2 separate regions of the Homo sapiens genome follow, and region 1 is linked to region 2. The links are contacts of gene promoters, found by promoter capture Hi-C in blood cells and fetal thymus (Javierre and others, 2016). All regions are on one chromosome and are shown on one strand. The core of a region is centred on a gene start or on the middle of the fragment in contact, and the rest is flanking DNA. Distances in the headings are between cores, read along the strand shown. Region 1 holds the start of LOC124903649 (a long non-coding RNA gene). Region 2 holds the start of ABCC1 (ATP binding cassette subfamily C member 1 (ABCC1 blood group)).

The links. Contacts are between HindIII fragments. The CHiCAGO score rates a contact against its expected background, and 5 or more counts as called.
Region 1: a contact is called between a fragment that was not itself captured here and the fragment with the promoter of ABCC1 in region 2, in 1 of 17 cell types (total CD4 T cells). The highest score is 5.2, in total CD4 T cells.

The regions. Positions count from the first base shown.
Region 1 is chr16:15,633,467-15,636,299 of GRCh38, forward strand. MARF1 (meiosis regulator and mRNA stability factor 1) reads right to left here. Exons shown (of 27, transcript NM_014647.4): 3 at 2,190-2,833; 4 at 1,291-1,465; 5 at 151-377. LOC124903649 (a long non-coding RNA gene) reads left to right here and starts at 544. Exons shown (of 2, transcript XR_007065003.1): 1 at 544-793; 2 at 2,040-2,332. The HindIII fragment of the contact is 1,062 bases long and covers 734-1,795 here.
Region 2 is chr16:15,948,366-15,951,296 of GRCh38, forward strand. ABCC1 (ATP binding cassette subfamily C member 1 (ABCC1 blood group)) reads left to right here and starts at 1,251. Exons shown (of 31, transcript NM_004996.4): 1 at 1,251-1,434. The coding sequence starts at 1,387. LOC107984869 (a long non-coding RNA gene) reads right to left here and starts at 806. Exons shown (of 3, transcript XR_001752339.2): 1 at 426-806. The HindIII fragment of the contact is 23,517 bases long and covers 1-2,931 here.

The sequences.
Region 1 (2,833 bases), core at 15-2,514, 310 kb before region 2:
GTCCCAGGGTTCGAGGCTGCAGGGAGCCATGAATGCGTCACTGCACTCCAGCCTGGGTGACACTTAGACTCTGTCTCAAAACAAACAAACAAACAAATATCTGCTTATTCCTCTACTGTAGATTAAAATTATTAAATTTTTTTTTTTTACCTGGCAATTATTCAGCTCTTGAATAACTTCCTTGTTTTCTTTACTGATGTCACATACACAGATGAATTCTGCTTCTCTGTGGCCTTTAAAAAACTTCTCACGGATTCTTTGCACAACAGCAGTTGCTGACCGGCCAGAGGGAACGGAGCAGTTTTCAATATCCCAAAAAACTCCAATGGGGGGTAAGTTTTCTAGCACCTGTCCAGCTACTGCAACTTCTGGTGACCCTTAAGAAATGTTAACATTTTCAATTACTTGTAGTGGAAAATAAATGGCAAGTTACAATAAGATAATAAACTACCTATCATTCTCAGTGGTAGAAAAACTAAATTATTAATGAATGCCAAGTTTTAAGGCTACCAACCTCACTGGTTGACCTAATAAGCAATCAAGCTGTCAAAAAGTATCACTCTAAGAGATTATTTCTGTTTTTCAGGAGAAGACAAATCTAAAAGTCAAGTAACTTTAAGCCCACAATAAATCCACCTCCAAGCATGAGCCACTCTGACATTAAGCAGTGATGCTTCTCTGAACACAAGCACACTAACTGACCGGATACTGCAGCTCCAGGACCCGACTTTCAAGCTTAGCCCACACTTATCTACCTACTTGGTAGTAACCAACACTGAGGAGCTGACAAAGGGTGAAGCTGTTACTGTCGTTGATTTTGAGTTAACGCTGCATTAACATCTGATTTAATATTTTAAAAATGTTTTCAAAACGTCGCATTAACTACTTTTTAGGGAAATTATTTTAACTGAGAACTCTTTGGTTTTCAAATACTGTTTTTAATCAGCCATTAGTAAATTGTTCTAAGCACTTCTAGGGAGTATACCATCAACAAGTGTGATTTCCAACCTAAGGTGACACCAAGTCTTTTCCAGCACTTTTATTTCTCCTGATATACTACCAATTTTTCTATACACAGCTTCTGTGTATAGCCTCGGCCCAACATAAAGGGCAAATGACTTCCTGGTCCATAATAATAAAAAGATTTCTACCAAGATATGGAATTGGAGACTCACATACACAGTAGCTTTAGAACCATAAGGAATCCTTCAAAGGTGATTAAATGCAATGTTAGTATGAGATATTGAAAGCTATTTAAATATGCACATTTTATGCCATACTGTCATTTACCAAATTTTGAAGCAGCTTTGCCTAGACTGGTCGCCAATAACAACGTGGTCTCCTTCCCTGTTCCTTTGGTTCCACAGCCATTACACAGAGGGACAGCAAGAGGTGCAGGTTGAGTATTTGGAGGTGGTATATTTGGCCAGACTTTAGCCGCATCGATTATGCTATTTCTTGCTGGCTGTTTTAAATTTTTTTTAAAAAGGAGGAGGTGTCAGATACATCATTTCAGAAGCTGGAGTTATATACAACAACTGAAAATACACTCTAAGTGTTTTACCTTTCCACTTGCTAGCCTCTAATAAAAAGGACTTTCAAATAATCTTTCCAAGAACCATTAGCTATCAGTTCATAAATTCATTTCCAGAAGTGACTTGACATGATCAAGAAAGATATTCACGTGGTCAGATCTTTACATTCTGGGGCATGAGTCTGCTGCAACGAAGACCTCACACATATTTTACATAAAGGGTAGCAAAGTCTCACTTGAACACCAATGTGACTGAGGCCAAGCTTCAGGTTTCCCACATTATTGCAAAAAGACAACATGCAGTTATCTACCTTACATGAATGGGCCCATGTGTAAGCTGAATGTAAGTTATAAAAAATCCATCGTGCTTTAGCCTTTAAACATAGAACACGAAGGCTTTGCCAACCTCTTGTTTGCAACAAGAGGCTCTAAAAGTATAAACTACAAAAATAATGACTCTCTACTTTTTTGAATGATCTCCCATCTTACCCTTTGTTTCTTTCAGAACCAGCAAAAATTATGCTGATGGGGAGATTCCCCTATACCATGGGAGAATCTTCAACCCCATGTATAATACTTTTCAAGATAAATCCACTTCAAAAGTCATTCCTCAATCCTCAGCTGCACCCAACTTAAGAAATAAAAAGATACGAACCTTGTTTAGACAGTCTTCGCAGTAAAGTGAGCCCTTTAAACAAACCGGAGGTACCACATTAAGGTGCAAAGAGTTGGTGCACAAGTGAGGCGTTAGCTCCGACTGTGAAATGTGCTCTTCCAAATGCCCTGGAGCCCCGCTTGTGAAATCAGAACAGGGGAAATAGCCAGCGGAGGTGCAGCCCTGCAGACTCGGAAACTGATGCAGCTTGTGCACATTACCATGACATGACTGGAAGTGGAGTTTTCCACAACAGGGCAGGTGTTTGCAGGAAGACAGGTTACTCTCTAGACACATGCTGGGAAAGTCACTTGCAATGCCTGCCAAATTGTTCCTAGCTGAGGCATTCTGGAGTGAAGATGCAGACTGGAAAGCAAACCCTGACCCTACCTGACACGTGATTGTCCTGGTGCTTTGCGAGTCTAACAGTGCGCCCGGGTGAATCAAGCTACTGGTACCTCCGCTACCGCCACCACCACCACCAAAACGCATTGGCGAAGTGGAGGGTTCATTAGGGCAATGAGCACAGCAGCTTACTTTGGGGACAGAAGAAAGCTGTATTTTAGGCTGCTGAAGAGAACGAATATCAGGAAGTGGGACTGCTGGAAAAAGCTTAGAGCCAGCATGAAGGGGTGATGGTACAT
Region 2 (2,931 bases), core at 1-2,500:
TGGGGTTGTGAGGATTGCACAAGTTAATTTGTGTAAATTGCTAAGAACACAGCCTTAGGAAGCCTTGTCACTGTGAATGCATATTAATTTTTTTTATTATTATTTTTTGAGACAGAGTCTTGCTCTGTTGCCCAGGCTGGAGTGCAGTGGTGTGATCTAAGCTCATTTCAACCTCCGCCTCCCAGGTTCAAGTGATTCTCCTGTTTCAGCTTCTCAAGTAGCTGGGACTACAGGTGCCCGCCACCATGCCCGGCTAATTTTTGTGTTTTTAGTAGAGACAGGGTTTTGCTATGTTGGCTAGGCTGGTCTTGAACTCCTGACCTTATGTGATCGGCCCGCCTCGGCTTCCCAAAGTGCTTGATTACAAGCACGAGCCACCATGCCTGGCCTACGATTATCATGTCTCCAGGCTTCAGTTTCCTTACCTCTGAGGTGAGGATCAATAACCTGGTTATTTCTAAGTGATGCTTAAAGAGGTTGAGAAGAAGCAAAGGCGCTCTGCACACAGGTGAGGTCAACAGCTGTTAGTGATGGAGACTGGCGCCGTCTGGGTCATCAGTGCTCCGGAATCAGGCTGCTCACGGGTTTGAATCTCACTTCCACTTTCACTCCTTATTAACTGTGTGACCTCGGGCAAGTCACTTCGCCTTTCTGAACCTCAGTTTCCCCATCTGTAAAAGGTAGGTGAATAACAGTATTCACCTCCTTCTGTGTGACTCAGCTTTGGAGTCAGCGGACCGGGTTCAAATCCCAGCCCTGCAAGTGATTAGCCAGGTGACCCTGGGCAGAGGGAATCACTCAACCTCTCTGCACCTGGGTTTCTTCCTTCATGAACGTGGAGACTTTACAGGATGAAATGAGGGCACAGTTAAGGCGCCCGGTACACTCCAGGCAGGTAGGGGGCTCCGTTCACGTTATTTTCCCCTGGTGACGGATACTGTCCTTAAACAGCATTTGAAAAGTGGTCGCAGGGTGTGTGGCCCCAAAGATCCCAGGCGCTTCCGGAAGGCGAGCCAACGCTCCCCAGGCCCGTCCGCGAGCGGGTGGGCCTAAGCCTTGGAGGATCTGGGGTGGGGGTGGCGCGGGGTCCAGGCCCGGGGCGCCGAGAGGTGGCTGGTCCGGCTGCCCACGCCGAGACGCGCGAGGTGAGCGGGCGCCGGGGCGGGGCGGGGTGGGGCGGGGCCGCCGCATCCCCGTGACGCGCGGGCCAACCAGGCGGCGTTGCGGCCCCGGCCCCGGCTCCCTGCGCCGCCGCCGCCGCCGCCGCCAGCGCTAGCGCCAGCAGCCGGGCCCGATCACCCGCCGCCCGGTGCCCGCCGCCGCCCGCGCCAGCAACCGGGCCCGATCACCCGCCGCCCGGTGCCCGCCGCCGCCCGCGCCACCGGCATGGCGCTCCGGGGCTTCTGCAGCGCCGATGGCTCCGACCCGCTCTGGGTACGTGCCGGGGGCCGCGTGAGGCCGGCGGGACGGAGGGAGGCCGGCGGGGAGGGAAAGCACCGGGCCCGCAGCCGCCCGGGGCACCCCGCTCCCCGCTCTGCTGCCGGCCTCGGGGGCCCGGGACCCTCACGTCGCCCGCGGCCCAGCCCCTTTCGGGGGTGCAAGGCATGGGGGAAACTTGGGTGACTCAGTTCCTGCGGAGCAGAGCGTGGGGGGCCGCGTGCCCAGCCCTGGGGTTTTGGAGGGTCGGGTCGGGTCAGAGCCGCCGTGAGGAGGCCTTCCTGTTTTGGGGTTCCCGTCTGTAAAAACAACCTTCCAGGGAAGGGGACGCTAGAGATGGGGGGCGGGAAGAGGGGTGTCTCTCTGCTTCTGTTTTCCCATCTTTTTTGTGGTTAGGGTCCCCCCTTTTCACGAAAAATACTCCGTGACCAACGGGGTGAGCTGGGGAGGGGCTTAGATTGTAGAAAGGGACTTTCATTGTCTCCCCAAAGTTGTCGTACAAGCCACATTACTCTTCTGTGGTTACCTAGCTTTGTTTTTTTTGTTCTTTCTACTTAGATACTGCGGGGGAAGTTTGGGGGAACCAGGGAAGAAGGGGGATGTCCACCCTTGATGTGCCCTACCTGACCCTCGGCTCGGGGCAGACTTGGGGTGCAGCTGAGGACGCCCAGGACCCTGGTAGCTGTGGTCCTGCCCTCCCTTCCCTGCAACACGTGGAGCTCCTCTCTGGGGATGCCCCTTAGATTTAACCCCGGCAAGTTTTCTTCTGTAACGTGGCCTGCGGAGCCTGACTGGGTGTCTGGAGTCCACTTGCTGTGGTTTAAGCCCCAGTCTTTTGGGCTTCAGCTTCTCCGTAATGCGATTTGCCTCTTTGTTCCAGGAAGGCAGGCACTTCTGTCTCGTGCTGTCTTGATTGTTGGTGAACGCAGTAGGCAAATCTGGACACGACTGTTTCTCTCTCCTCTTTTGTTTAGGAATCAGGAGAAACAGCCTTGGTTCTTAGGAGCTGGTGATCAGCTTCCAAAAATACTTTCTTGTCCTGTTTTGCCGGCCTTTCCTCGAGGGTTGCATTTGGAGTGTTGAAAAGTCATCCTCCAGGGCCCCATTGGAGGGTTTGGTTTTGTTTGTTTGTTTTTTTTAGTAGGGTATCATTGTGTTTAATAACCTACCACACTTTGATATATCTCCCATTTTAAGCCAGTGGGGTTGGAGAGTAACCCCAGGGGTGGAAATAGAACACAGACTTTGCCTTGAGGGTCTGGGGGTGATTGGAGCCTCTTTGCAGATGGACTTTCTTTAGCAGGGGAAAACCTGTGGCTTCCTTGTTGCCAGGTGTAGTAACAGCAAGATTATTTTTTGCAAAGATTCACATGGTGATCTGGGTTTGTGTTGCTGTGAATTCCAGAATATTCTCTTGTTTATTTTCTTCTGAATTGAGGAGGGGGCAAAACAGGGTGAACATCCATGAGGTTTTGTATCAGGACGTATTTTATT